Regions from separate parts of the Homo sapiens genome. Here all the other regions are linked to region 1. Evidence: promoter capture Hi-C in human tissues and cell types (Jung and others, 2019). All regions are on one chromosome and are shown on one strand. The core of a region is centred on a gene start or on the middle of the fragment in contact, and the rest is flanking DNA. Distances in the headings are between cores, read along the strand shown.

Region 1 (2,700 bases), core at 13-2,512:
CGACCGCCTGGGAGGCGTGGCTTATTCAGTCGCTTTATTAATAAAAGAGATCAATTAAGCTTTCCTCTCCCCACCCACCCTGGAGGTGCCGGGCTTTGAATCCTCGGGAGGAAAAAATGGCAGGGCTGCAAGCTTCCTCCCCAAGTTTCCAGGAGCACCTGCCACCAGCCTTGAACACCTCCCCCACCGAGGCTCCGAAATCCACAATCCTGGCCGTAGACTTTGCAAAACGAGGGGAGGGACACACGCAGCGTGTCCCCCATTCCCGCCGGGATAAGCACGCACAGGCTTCTGAGCGCCTGCTGATCCACACAATCATGAGAGAGAAAGTTCCAGGGGGAAACGATCCGGCTTCTCCGCAGTCCCGGGTCTCCAGCCGCGCGACCCAGACGTGACATGCATCATGGACTCCCGGGCTGCAGGGGCGAGAGGCGGAAAGTTGCCCAACAGCCCCGGGAGACGCTGCTTGGAGAGGAAGAGGGAAGAGAGGCACGCATGCCCCCTCCCTCTCCTCCCGAAAGCGAGGAGCTGCGGAGTGAACCCCCAGCTCCAAGGGCGTCGCGCCGCTTTATTTACAAACAATGAGCTCGGCTTGCGGAGGGTGGGGGGTGCGGAAGGACCCAAGCTCCCCTGGATCCCGCTCCGGGGCGCTCCCGCTTTGGGGCTCCCCTGCAGACGCTGGGCACGAGCACCCCGGGGACGGCCCCTTTCCCCTCCCCCTGCCGGCGCGGGATAGGAACTCCCCGGGGAGTCCCGAGCAGGAAGGGGGTGCCACTCACCTCGTCTTCGGAAAGTCCATAGACCGGCTCCCCGAGCCCGGTCGCCATGGAGCCGGCGCCCCGCGCGGGGTCTGAGGCGCTCCCAGCGGCTGTGCTGCGGCGCGGACGGCCGGTTCTCCCCTCTGCCTCCAGGTCCCCCCGGTCCCGCACCCTACCCTGCGCACGCCCTGCCGGGTAAGCGGCCGGGCGCCGGCAGGTGAGGGTGCCCGAGAGCGCGCCCTGGACGCTGCCGGCACCGCTTCCTCCCGGAAGGCTGCGGGACCAGCGGGCGGGCGGCTCCCGAGAGCGCGCCGAGCACCGGGCGGCAGCCCCGGCGCCTCTCACTGCGCGCGGCGGCGGCGCAGACCCGGCCGGGCTTTCCCTCCCCGCGACCCGCGCCTCCCTCCCGCCCCGCCGCTCTCCGCCCCCCTCCGAGCCTCCTCTGCGCTCCCGGGGACCCGGCTCGCCCGCCTCCTCGCTAGCGCCGTCCGGGCCCCCGCTCTCTCCGCCCCCTCCTCCGCCTCCTCCCACCGGCGCCGCGAGGGTACCCTCCCCGTTCGCCGGGGCGGGCACACGCGCCCCCCAAGCCAATCACAGGCCGGGCTGGCGAGCGGGCCGCGGGCTGCGGGGGTGGCGGAGTTCAGCCCCACGCCCACCCCGGCCCGGGGCCTCCAGCGCGGCGCGGCGGGGGTCACCCGGCCGCGGGGCGGATCCGCAGGGGCGTGTACTGGCGCGCTTGGCCGGCGCCGCCGACCCTCCCTCCTCTCCCGGTTTCCCTCCGCTTTAGGGAGGGGGCGGGCTGGACGTTTGGGGGCGATAGAGGATTTTGCGAACAATAACAAAAACGCCCTGAGCGTTTCTTCCTCCCGGTGGTCTTTTTACCGAGAGCCCTGAGCTCGCTGTTAACTGTGAAAAGGGGAAAAGATGGATGTTTCTAGACCCCTTTAAATTCTTTGCGGCCCCGACGAGCAGGACTTGGCTACATTGTCAGCTCCCGGGAGCGAGCCGCCCGGCCCGGCTGCCAGCCGAGGAGAGGCTGCCCCAGTGTGGCCGCAAGTCGCCATTGCCTGTGTCAACCTTGCAGGGAACAAAACCAACATAGCGCCCGCCCCGGTTACACACCCACCCACGCGAAAACAGACAGCATGGTTCTTTGAATAAAAAGCAGTTCATTTGTGAGCCGCAACGTGAAATATCAAACTCAAGCTTAAGGTTATCCTTTGCATATGCAAATGATCGAGACGTCTTATTAGCCACCGTAGGATTCTTCCCACCACCCAGCTACCGTTTCTCTAGCAAGCAGTTCATTTAATCCTTCCGATTTATAGGACTGCAAGAGACTACTTTAAATAAGTGAAAGAAATTCGTCAGTCGACTTTTTCGGAAGCCTTTCCTTAAATTTAGATGTTAAGTGCAGTTGGGAGTTCAAAAAGAAAACAGACGCAGAACATTCCATTTGCCTTTGAAAAGGAAACGTCAAAGTGCCTACTTGGGTATTACCAGGATGCATTTAGGATTTTCATTCAAGGAAGTTCAGAGAGAACTCGCGTGACCCGAAGGAATCATATTCCTCGTTGCCAGCTACATAACTAAATATCTGCTGTTCGCCCTGCTAGTTCGTTTTCAAAAGAGCCCACCCATGCTACCTTAAGCTCTCCTTTGCCTTCCTGCAGCATGACTGGCTTAAAACCTGTGCCGTAGAATGGGTTTCCTTTGACGACTTAGCCCCATGGAGTCAACATCCTACTCAGAAGCCTTCTCTAGAAGTCTTGAGCCGTCAAGTCCACAGTACTTACAGGCCACAAAACCCCCAATGAGAACTATTTATGGAGGACTATTTAAAAGTCAGATTTCTGTCCATTCTTTCAATACTGAGGTTTTTCAACCCTTTCAAACCTCGAGTCTTTAGACCGGGCACGGTGGCTCAAACCTGTAATCCCAG
Region 2 (2,700 bases), core at 101-2,600, 270 kb after region 1:
GGGCACCTTTTTCAATGTTTTTCCTCCCAGACCCCCTGCCCGGATGAAGTGAGTTGTAAAATGCTGCCTCTGCCTCTGAAAGTTCTGCCAGAAATCCCACCCTTTCTGTCTGCACCACCTTATTAGCCTCCGCCTTTGGCCCCTGTTGCCAGAGGACAGTAAGGACTTTCTGCACTCTTGTCTTGGCCACAGATTAACACCATCTTTTCCTGGAGTCCTTGGTCAGGGTTATCATTTCTTTCTTTTCTTTTTTTTTTTTTTTTTAAGACAGAGTCTCGCTCTGTCACCCAGGCTGGAGTGCAATGGTGTGATCTTGGCTCACTGCGTCCTCTGCCTCCTGTGTTAAGAGATTTTCCTGCTTCAGCCTCCTGAGTAGCTGGAATTACAGGCATGCACCACCACACCCAGCTAATTTTTGTATTTTTAGTAGAGATTTGTTAGTAGAGCCTCTGCCTCCCGTAGTGTTGGAATTACAGGCATGAGCCACCGCTCCAGGCCTAGGGTTATCATTTCTAAAATGCAAATCTGATTAAAACAGTTCATGTTGTTGAGGCCCCAGCCTCTTTGCACAGATGGATCCTGCACTTCTGCTCCCCACCTCCTCACCTCTGCAGGTGCTTCAACTTCAGGAACCAACTCACTTCTTCCAGAATAGCTTCCTAGGCCCCCTTCCCTGCTCTATGTCCTCATCGTCCCTGTTACTTCTCCATCACAGCAGAGAGGCTTCTGTGCGCCGAATTCCTAGGGTCTGCCTTACCTTAGACTTTAAGCTTCATAGGGACAGGAGCCACGTTGCTCACCAGCAGCTGACTGAATACCTGCCACGAGGTCGGGACGTGTTGTTTACTCAATGCATGGGAGAACTCAGATGGCCTCTCCCTGCTTAGCACACAAATTCCAAATGCCGCTAGCACCCAAGGCCTTCCCAGCCTTGCCTCAGTCTGCTTTCCAGTCTCCTCTTCCAACTCTCTTCTTCTTCCTCCCCTGTCTACCCGCACTTTAGTAACTGAACTAATCCTGTGTGCCTTCAGTGCTGCAGAATATTTGCCCCCAGGGATTTCTTTCCAGAAATGCCTTTCTCCTCTCACTTTCTATCTCCCAATCAGATAGTGGCCCAGCTTGGGACTTGACCTTCAAGGCCAACTCAGCATCCCTCCTGTCTCTCTCCATCCCTGATCATCAGGTATAATTGACTGCTTTCTCCTCCACTTCTCCCGCTAGCAATACTCACAGTGAATGTCATGGTAAGGTGTTTATTTGCCACTGATGGGCGGGTAGTAGAGGAACAATGGAATTTTACATTTTAGGAGGCTTGTTCCTTATAATTATCTTAGCTCTTTTATAAAGCACTGATAGGTAACAAAATTACAGGTTTGAACTCAGAAAGCTTGCAAAGTTTTTGTTTTTGTTTTGTTTTTAGGATAACTTTAGGGAGATTTCTAAGTATTGTATAGGTTCAGTTAACCAACATAACATGTTTTTTAGGAGTATAAACATTATAGAGATGTCTGCCGACTAATTAGTATGTCGATTGTAGTTTTAATCGTGAAAATTGGGGTGGGAACAGCTAAAGGCAGAGCTAACTGGTTTTTTCCCAGGTATTTATCATGAGTTGTGTGCCTTAGGCTGTGTTCCCTTTTGAATGTGGTTTTTCTGGTTGTTCTGACAGCACTGCTAAGTGTGCCCTTTGACATTACTGGAGAACTAATTTATATTGATGGTGCCACTCATATCTTTGGAAACTGGATATGTTCTGATCAGCTCATTGATTTCTAACCTGTAGGATTACAGTAAAATTTAGACCTGAGGCACCACCCAGAAACTCCTGCTGCTGTATGTGGCCTGAATGAATCAAAATATGCTTGGACAGCTCATTATTTAACAGAAAACTCTGCCTTTGGCTTTTGAAGAGCAGATGTCCAAATGTAACTTGTCAGCCTGATTTTTGGAAGCTTGAGCAAGGGGAACCTGGTTATCTCAGACCATTTCGTAATTATAAAGAAAGTGAATTGAAGGATCAGGAAGTAAGTGAATTGAAGGATCAGGAAGTAAGGGAATTGCCTAACAATAGGAGATGCACCACGCCCAGTGCTGAGAGAGGTAGACTATATCACGCTTAATAAAACTGTCTGAATGAGTGATGGACTACTCCCATATCCTCTAAAGGAGGTAGTCTGACTCCTACAGAAACAGCTCCATTTTGATTTTAGGAGGTGGTTGTGATATAAGACTTACCATCTTAATTCTGCCATCAGTTGCAATCAGCATTAATTGCAAATCTCTTTCTGACAAAAATTCAAGTCCAGGCAGGGTGCAATGGCTCACGCCTGTAATTCCAGCACTTTGGGAGGCTGAGGTGGGCAGATCACTTGAAAAGGAGTTCAAAACCAGCCTGACCAACATGGTGAAACCCTGTCTCTACTAAAAATACAAAAATTAGCTAGGTGTGGTGGCACGTGCCTGTAATCCCAGCTATCAGGAAGCTGAGGCAGGAGAATCGCTTGAACCTAGGAGGCAGAAGTTGCAGTGAGCCGAGATCGTGCCACTGCACTCCAGCCTGGGCGACAGAGCGAGACTCTGTTACAGAACAAAACAAACAAAATTCACATCCATGTTTCTAGAAGAACGGTGACTTTAACTCGTATCTGACTGTCCCTTTGCTGTTCTGTCCTTAACATTGGGGCATGTTGACATGTTTTC
Region 3 (2,702 bases), core at 88-2,587, 320 kb before region 1:
AATCCTCAATTTAGAAGTCAGAAGGTTTGTCCCTTAATATTTAGTGGTCTTGGGCAAGGATTTCTTTAAATCTCAAATGCTTTATCTATGAAATAGAGTGATAGTACCCCAGTTGAGGGCTCAGGAATTGAGTTAACTATAGTCATTCAAAAGTTGTGATATCTCTTCAGGCAAAGGAGTAACATGTTAATGTAGTCATTTAAATAATCTTTATTTGCTACCTTGTAAAGTAGCTTACAATATCTTAGAGTCAGGGCCGTGAGTTTTGGCTACTGAAAAAGCTTACGATATTTTTATGAGCAAAAAGGATTGGGTTTTGCATATACACAGACATTAACTATGACAGCCTCGAAAACAACTCATTGCTTTTTAGCCACTAGTATGAATTTCAGCAGAGAATACTTCTGCTGTTATCATTTCGGCCTAAGTTAATAAAATATACTGATCCTTAGTCTAGTATCTCCAGACTCCAAACCTTACACTTTCACCATACTTATCTTGACCAGAAACAGAAGAAATGAAGAACATGAACTTCCCTCTTTTATAGTTTTAAGACATGTTTATATAAAAAACCCGAAACAAAACAAACAACCACTCTTCCAGAAAATGAGCACGTCAGTGTTTTGCTCTGTAATTCCAGAGCAAAAAATACATCATCTTTATATAGCTTAGGAGCAATCTATAGACAATTTACACTGCCTATGGTCTTTTCTTAGTTTTTAAGCCAGTCTTCTTTGATTTTCCACTGAACAACAGATTTGACCTCACATCCTATTTATTTTAGGCAGTGTTTAGTCTGATGAAACCACATAGCAATTCTGAGTCTAGGCAAGGTATAAATTTGTTAATACCTGGACAACCACCAAAATAAGAAAAAGAATACAATGTTCTGACATAAGCCAATAAAGAGATCATGTTTTCTGCTCTACCAACAGTACATCCCGTCACAAACTAAGATTTCCTCTCTAGTTTATTTCTCACTTTCTGGTGTTCATTCTCGTCCATTCAACCGATACTTCTTGAGCACCTACTCTGTGCAAGGCATTTTAGGTGCCAGAAAAATAACAGTACATAAACCAAAGGTAGCTTTCCCAGTTCCCTCCTGGAGCTCACAAGCTGTTGAGAGCAACAGGCAATAGGAAATCAATGAATAAACCGTGGTAGTGCCATGAGGAAAAAAATGACCCCATAGGAACTAAAAAAGTGACTTCCTTCCACTCTCTCCTGCCAGCGTTAGAAGGCCTGCACTCTCGGGTAGACTCTCATCAGCTGGCTCTGCATCACATCCTCTCTACTAAGGAGTTTCTTCACTGTTAAGTGGAAGAATTTGACTGGATGAACAAACGTGACTCAGCTCTTCTATTTCTGAAAGTCTGTGATTCCCAGCAACTATTTTTTGTTTGTTCCTGTATTCGTGAGGGTTCTCCAAACATCACTGTTACATCACAGTTCCCCCTACTCCTGAAAATGTTGGAAAAAAAGCTTAAACAGTCATCACTGTGTATGCAAGTTCGACTGTCTTAAATGACAAATTCCCCAAGGAGCAGATTTCAACATGTGGCCCCCAGCCTATGATGCCCGTTCCCTTGCCTGCTCTGTCTCCTGGCAGGGGCTGAGGAGGTGTGGGCGGAAATGTTGAGATATTTCAAGCCTTTCTCCTTCTGGGGAATGATGCGTGAAAGCTGAAAAATCACTGTCTTCCTCTTGCATTCATTATCTTTTCTCTCCAGAGGTAGTTCTCATGATAGAATAAGAAGAGCAAGTTTTTACATTCTCTTCCTGAAAACTTTCCAACAACGTACCAGGACAAACATCCTTCCAGTGCAGCTTCTGAAGAGATTACACGTACATTTTTTTTTTTTTAATTATTGGACCAAATCATTTGTTCTCACTTGAAAATCTCGAATGTCATTTTCTGGCTTACAAGTTAGCTTGTAAAATAGGTCTACGTGAAAAATGAACATATCTGTTGATTAAAGCCCTTTTGCTCTGCATTAAATCTGTGTTCCTGTTTTGGGTACAGAATGAAAATCTGCCTTATTGTGTAGGTCGGTTCTAAATGTTTTCACATCATCACTGGCCGGGAGACATTGGAGCTCCTTGCACAGAAGGGCTCATGCCCGGCACGGGGACATCAGTGACACCAGCGCATCTGGGGCTCCGGTCCTGATTCTGACCCTTGCAAGGACTGTCAGCAACAGAATAAGCTTTCTGAGCTTCTGACAAATTGGAAATAACAACATTTGCCCTGCCTTTCTGAGGGGACGACTGTGAGTTTCAAGTCGGCTGATTATAAAGTTCTTGGAAAAATGAAAGTGTTACACAACATGAGATAGTGTTCATGACAGCAGCATGTGTGAACATCACTTACTAAATGCTATTACTAGTGATATCTGCTATACACAGAGCATGCTAACTTACAGGAATGCTGAACACTGAGCTGCCACAGAAAGGGTCCCCTCTCCCTAAAAATATGTAGAAACGCTAGGCCTACTTAGAACTGATATTTTTAAAACTTGGGAAGAGAAACTCTAGGTACTAGGTAAGCAGAAAGACTCACAATTAGAGAAATCAGTGGGCACTGGACCTAGACATAGGGGCTTGGGTTTTAATCTCCCATGGGGACACAGAACTTGGCCTTTGGTCTACATGATGGAGAAAGAACAGTCATTGTTTAAAACCTAACATCTGGAAAGGGGACA
Region 4 (2,700 bases), core at 51-2,550, 440 kb before region 1:
AGAAATTGATTGTCTCACAGTTCTGGGGGCTGGAAGACTGAAATCAAGGGGTTGGCAGGGTTGGCTCCTTCTGCAGGCTCTGAGGGAGGGTCTGTTCCATGCCTCTCCTCTGGCTTCCGGGTTTGCTGGCAATCCTTGGAGTTCCTTGACTGATAGACGCATCTCTTTAACTTATGTCTCCAACATCACATGATATTCCCCCTGTGTGTCTCTGTCTTTTGTCATCTTCTTATGAGACACCAGTAACAGTGGATTGAGGGCCTCCCCTGCTCCAGTGTGACCTTATTTAAGAAATTCCATCTGTAATGATGTGATTTCCAAATAAGGTCACATTCTGAGGTTCTGGGAAGGACGTGACTTTGGGGATGGGGTGGGCAAGGATGCTACTCAACCCCCTATATCTATCCAACATGAAAAGGATAGCGAGTTTCTGCAATGGTGATCCTGTTGGAGAGATGGCCTACAGCTCCAGATTCAACCCTCAAGGCAGCGGGTGGCACATGTCGCATGTAAGGTGGGTCACTAGCAGGGAAACCTGCACTTCCCATTGCTTGGGTAGAGGAGAGCTTGATGTTATTGAATTCATGTCCTTTGAATGAATCTGGGATAATCAATCTAAGAACACAAAGGATGTTGCCCTATTTTTCTTCTTGGGCAAGGGCAATGGCCTTGGTGATGGCTGTCAGTTTGTGAGAACGGGTCAAAGCAGCAGCCCAACATCCTGGCTGAGACAGAGGCCAAATTGAGAAAGGAGGAAGATTTGTAATTTCTGTAAATGCTAGGTAGCAAAGAAAAGTCTGCACCTGAGAAAGACAGGGAAAGGGAAGTTCAACACTGTCTGACAGGCCAAGTTGAGGGTCGAAAATTAGAGAAAGAGATGTTCAGAAATGTGGCGTGGAGACAAGGTAGTGCTGAGCATGGAGCTGGGCCCCATTCATTTTGTTCTTTCAACATTTATAGAAAAGCCTCCCCTGGACAGGCGTTCTGGGCATAAAGCAGTGTCCTGAGAGAGATCATAATCTGTGCAGAGAAGATGGGGCGCATACACCCCTAACTCTGAGAGGGGTGTCTAGTTCTCAAGAAGATGCAGGGAGGAGGTTGGAGAGATGTCCTCTCATGGTGCGGAGAGAGCCCACTGGAGCTGGGGCTCGAAGGTAGCTAAGGGCTGAGAAAGGGTCTCTGAGATGGTGCAGAGATGCCTTTGCTCTCTGGCCTCACCAAGCCCAGGCACAGCCATCTTAGCCTCTGCTGCCTGACTCCAGCTTTCTGCGAGGGTCTAAAGAAAGAGGTTAAGTGGAGGTGGAGAAGGAGGCAGATTCCTGAAAGAAGTCTACCCAGGGGCTGCCCAGAAGTCACGCTCCTTTGACCCAGCTCAGCTTTTTCCATTCCAGAGGTGGAGACTATTAGACAGGGGCTCTCTTTTTACCTGGCATTAACACCTGCCGGCAAGGGAGTGCTTCAGGACGAAGTGGTGATCTTTCTGGGAGGTCACAGTGTGAATTAGTTATTTTTCTCTGCAGAGACCAGATGTTGTCTGAATTTGAAAAGCCTCGAGGCAGTCCTGATGCAAATGACCGGGACTTGTTTCCAATGTGCTCAGACAGGGAAGCTGCCCCTGCCCACTCGTGACACTCCCCATTTGAGGAGCTCAGGAGTTGGTGTGAAGCAACCGGGGTCCCCCCCCAGTGGCAGGTGGGATTAAACCATCCATCCTGACGGAGCAGGCCCTGCGTCTCACCAGGGAGAGAGCGCTCAGGCATACAGGAAACACTGACAAGCTGACATTTCAGCCTTTCAGGGAGCTCCTGCAGAGGAAGATAGAGATGTAAAAATGATACCATTAGCAGTAGACGATTTCCCACTCTGCCAGATTCAACTCCTTTCTTTGGTTGACCTTTTCTTCAACGAGAAAGCTTGGCTTTTAGAAACCAAGTCATTTTTCCCAAGGCCATGGACTGTGGGCTCCCAGGGGCAGAGCAGTCCCCCAGCCAGGAGGAGGAGGGGCAGCTGGATTTATAACAATCACGGCAGGGTGGAGCTGCAGGCTGCCGCTTTAGCTTCCGAGAGGAAGGAAACCTTTCACGCCCTTAAGAGCTTAAAAAACCCAGCTTGGATTGCACAGGGAAAAAACTCTCTCCATTCAGTCCAGGTGTGTCGACCTCTATAGTTTCTACCAGCCAATGAAGGAGGCCTGATTTCTTGAATCATAACAGCTACAGAATCCGCAACATGCCAGCATTACAGACTTCTTTTTGCCAGTTTGCCTTTGGCCCTATTAAGCAACAACGGCCAGCACTCTCTCCCACCGGGCAGGGCTGGTTTCATGCGTGTGCAATTTGTGCACAGGACCTCACACTCAGAAGGGCCCTGTGTTTGGTTTAATGCTCTGTGCTTGTTGTCTTGAAATTCTTACTACTTTTTGAACAAAGAGCCTGTTTTCGTTTTGTACTGGGCCCTACATGTCACTGGTCCTGAATGCCAGGCACCCTCTGCCCCTACCCTTTACCTGGAAAATCCCTCAGCTTTGACTCTCAGCTTCAAAGTCTCTTCCACAGGAAGCCCGCATCAGTTGCATCAGTTGTAATGTTGATAATTATAACAACACGATCAACATCAGCTGAATCTTTACTGTGTTATGCCCTGAGCTACATGGTTTCTATGGATTTTCTCATTTCATCCCCTCAACAACCCTATGGGCAT
Region 5 (2,724 bases), core at 221-2,720, 300 kb before region 1:
GTGATTAGGAGCGCGAACCCAAACAACAACGCAAACAGCAATAATAAGAGGTCTGGCCTATTTAAAGCGTGGAGGAAATAATTAAACATAATGATGGGGGAAAGGATGGGGAAACACATTCAAGGGAAATAAAAATGAATCACTAGCCCAGCATAAAAACTAGCCTCGGATTAAAGTGGGGGCTGGGCAGGGAAGAAGCTACACACTGCAATAGGCTCTTACTTTGAAAATATCTTTCACGTCACATTTTTAAAATATATTCAGTGATAAACTGATTTGAAAAGCAAATTCTTCCTTAGGCTATTATTGTATTTAAAGTAATGCATTTTCTTTGTGAGAAAGCTTTTACAAATACGGGTCTTTCAGAACAATACATAAACACCAGGAAAGGAGTTCGGTCATGTACATTTCGGCTTCTATGGCCTGCGGTTTTAAGTTGGATGGCAATCTTCGTACCTGCATGATAGGTCGAGTCCAAGTTGTGGTTCGATTGTTATGATTGACATAGTATGTGCGCCCCTTAGCATCTTTTCTTTCTTCCCAGCCTGAAGGCAGACCCGGCGTGGTATGTACATAGGCCACTGATGGCTGTTTGTGCAAGAAATCATTATTATTTAATACCTTGCATTTGTTTTCTGATCAGTTTAATAAAGTAAGGTACACCCAGATAATTATTTTCTCTAGACAAAGTTAATTAGATCTATTTATATAGAAAACACTTACAAGTGTCTGGAAAACAGCAATAGATTTCCAACAGCTTCAAATCTACTGTGAAATGAACCCCATACAGTTGCAGAGTCCAAATTCTTACAGAACTTGGTTCTAAGACCCCGTAGTCTCAAACGTAAAGGGTTGCTGCCAAGGTGATCACAGGGAAAGGGAAAAACATTATCATCTGTTCTAGCTACTAAATTCCACTGCCAAACCAGGTAGAGCTTAAAGGTATTTCAAACTGTCCAGTGTCACTGTGTATGAGAGGGATGCTCTGAGTTTCTCCTCGATGTAGCTCCCATGGGGTGCTCTTCTAGCTTAGGCCTACATTCCTCCATCAGCTTAGGACCCTAACACTGTAGCTTCTGGGGCAAAATTTTAAAATCCCAACACAGAGCCCCTTCTCTAGGATACTGATGGTCACACAGTAGCATATAATCTGGAGGACCACCCAGGACATCTGTGTGCCCCAGCTCAGGAAGTCTCCCAGCACCCAGCCTCACACCCCAGGCTATGTGCACCCAAGTCTGCTGATAGGAGTGTGTTTCTTTGAAGGTGAACACAGCTTGGCAGTTTTTGGGTTTAGAGACCTGCCCCGCATAGAGTGACTGTATTTAGACAGTCCACATTTGATCACAAGAAGATCCCTGAGAAGCAGTCTAAGAAATGCAGTGTGGATGGAGAAACACTGAAAAACAAGGATGTGTTGATGATGTATGGAGGCACTGGGACAGATGCTGGAGATCAGGGCTGTCCCAGGAGGGCTTGAATGCATAGGCGATGCATGTAATATCTGTGCCTGTGAAAGAGCTCTAAGTGGGGAAAAGCTCAGAAACCAGAAGCCGACCACAGCTATACCACGGCTCCTAGGGGAATCTAAAGGTATAGGAGGAGCCCATGCCTTAGGAATAACCTCTCACGTGAGGTTACAAAAGGAAGCTGCTTCTTTTACTTCCAGATATTTTAGCAGTTGTCGTTTTCTTGCTATTAGGCTGAGGATACAAATTTCCTCTGAACCTAACTTCTTCCTGTGCTTATGCCACCTTTTCCCTGCACTACCAGCAATGTGTCTTGGTGAAGGTGGTCACCTGGAGTTCCCTGGTGGACTCCAGGATCTCAAATTAGAGAAAGCACCAACAAGGATGCTGCCGGGTAATTTGAAAACCCCATCCACAGAGAAGCAGTATGTTAACCTCCCAGGCTTAAAAGCACAATTCAGAGAAAGATCACCTGGGTAAGATCATGAAGCAGCTGATTTTAGATTATGTGTAAGAAAACTTTCTGCTGATATTAAGGAAAACCATTTCCTTAATATTTCCCGAGATAAAGTCCTAAAGCTCCCTAAAGATAGTTTATAAAGACACAAAGACTCGGATCATGGAGCATTCTGGATCCAGGTGTGGAGACTCAGCAGGAGCAGAAGAAACATCAACACTGACTTAATCCTTTCATGAATATTAAACATCGATGAATTAGCATGCAGCCTGAGTGAAGCTCCTTCCTCCCCTCCTCCTCTAGCAGCGATGCCAACACAAAGAGCTACGTGGATCCGGGCACTTCAATGGACTCCCCTGCTGAGCTAAGTTGTAACCTAAGTTCCTGGTCAATTAGTATCTCTGGCAAAGTATGTGCTATCAAGTTTTGACCTACTATTGTTTATACAATCAATGAAATACTAAATGGAATGTGTTACATTCTCAGCTCCCTCCGCCCAGAGCCCTCCCCTTCAGCCGTTCTGGTGATCCACTTCCCCCTCTCCCAGGCCCCTTCCCTCCCATAACTCCCCACTCCCCCTGGCCCCGCCCCTGGAAAACTCAGCTCCGGAAACCTTAGCTCTGGAAACCTTAAGGATATTTTTGCAGTTACTCAATCTCTGGAAAGGACACTTGGGAGGCAACTGATCAACTGAAAGCACATGGATGTGTCATAGATCATGTCAGAACTGAATCCTAAAGCTGTATGAATTCTAGCAACCAGGTTACTTTGTTTTTTCCTTTTTGAGACAGAGTATTG

What was found. The method cuts DNA at HindIII sites, captures the fragments that hold promoters and counts their contacts. A contact is called where the count stands out against the background at its distance.
Region 2: a fragment that was not itself captured here is called in contact with the fragment with the promoter of NEDD4L in region 1 in 3 of the 25 tissues and cell types used here (mesenchymal stem cells, spleen and thymus).
Region 3: a fragment that was not itself captured here is called in contact with the fragment with the promoter of NEDD4L in region 1 in 4 of the 25 tissues and cell types used here (dorsolateral prefrontal cortex, hippocampus, mesenchymal stem cells and 1 more).
Region 4: a contact is called between a fragment that was not itself captured here and the fragment with the promoter of NEDD4L in region 1, in 1 of the 25 tissues and cell types used here (mesenchymal stem cells).
Region 5: a contact is called between a fragment that was not itself captured here and the fragment with the promoter of NEDD4L in region 1, in 1 of the 25 tissues and cell types used here (mesenchymal stem cells).

The regions. Positions count from the first base shown.
Region 1 is chr18:58,042,788-58,045,487 of GRCh38, reverse strand. It overlaps NEDD4L (NEDD4 like E3 ubiquitin protein ligase), which reads right to left and starts at 1,262. Exons shown (of 31, transcript NM_001144967.3): 1 at 780-1,262. The coding sequence starts at 827. RefSeq lists silencers at 628-1,177, 1,198-1,567. The HindIII fragment of the contact is 3,203 bases long and covers 1-2,700 here.
Region 2 is chr18:57,770,766-57,773,465 of GRCh38, reverse strand. The region is part of intron 1 of ATP8B1 (ATPase phospholipid transporting 8B1); the gene reads left to right. It overlaps LOC124904310 (a long non-coding RNA gene), which reads right to left and starts at 2,374. Exons shown (of 2, transcript XR_007066388.1): 1 at 2,236-2,374. The HindIII fragment of the contact is 5,328 bases long and covers 1-2,700 here.
Region 3 is chr18:58,361,048-58,363,749 of GRCh38, reverse strand. The region is part of intron 19 of NEDD4L (NEDD4 like E3 ubiquitin protein ligase); the gene reads right to left. Among named protein-coding and RNA genes, the nearest start is that of MIR122HG, 84 kb to the left of the region's middle. The HindIII fragment of the contact is 3,377 bases long and covers 1-2,702 here.
Region 4 is chr18:58,484,771-58,487,470 of GRCh38, reverse strand. All of the region lies in intron 12 of ALPK2 (alpha kinase 2), which reads left to right. Among named protein-coding and RNA genes, the nearest start is that of MIR3591, 35 kb to the right of the region's middle. The HindIII fragment of the contact is 9,694 bases long and covers 1-2,700 here.
Region 5 is chr18:58,338,902-58,341,625 of GRCh38, reverse strand. NEDD4L (NEDD4 like E3 ubiquitin protein ligase) reads right to left here. Exons shown (of 31, transcript NM_001144967.3): 14 at 457-588. Among named protein-coding and RNA genes, the nearest start is that of MIR122HG, 110 kb to the left of the region's middle. The HindIII fragment of the contact is 3,349 bases long and covers 1-2,724 here.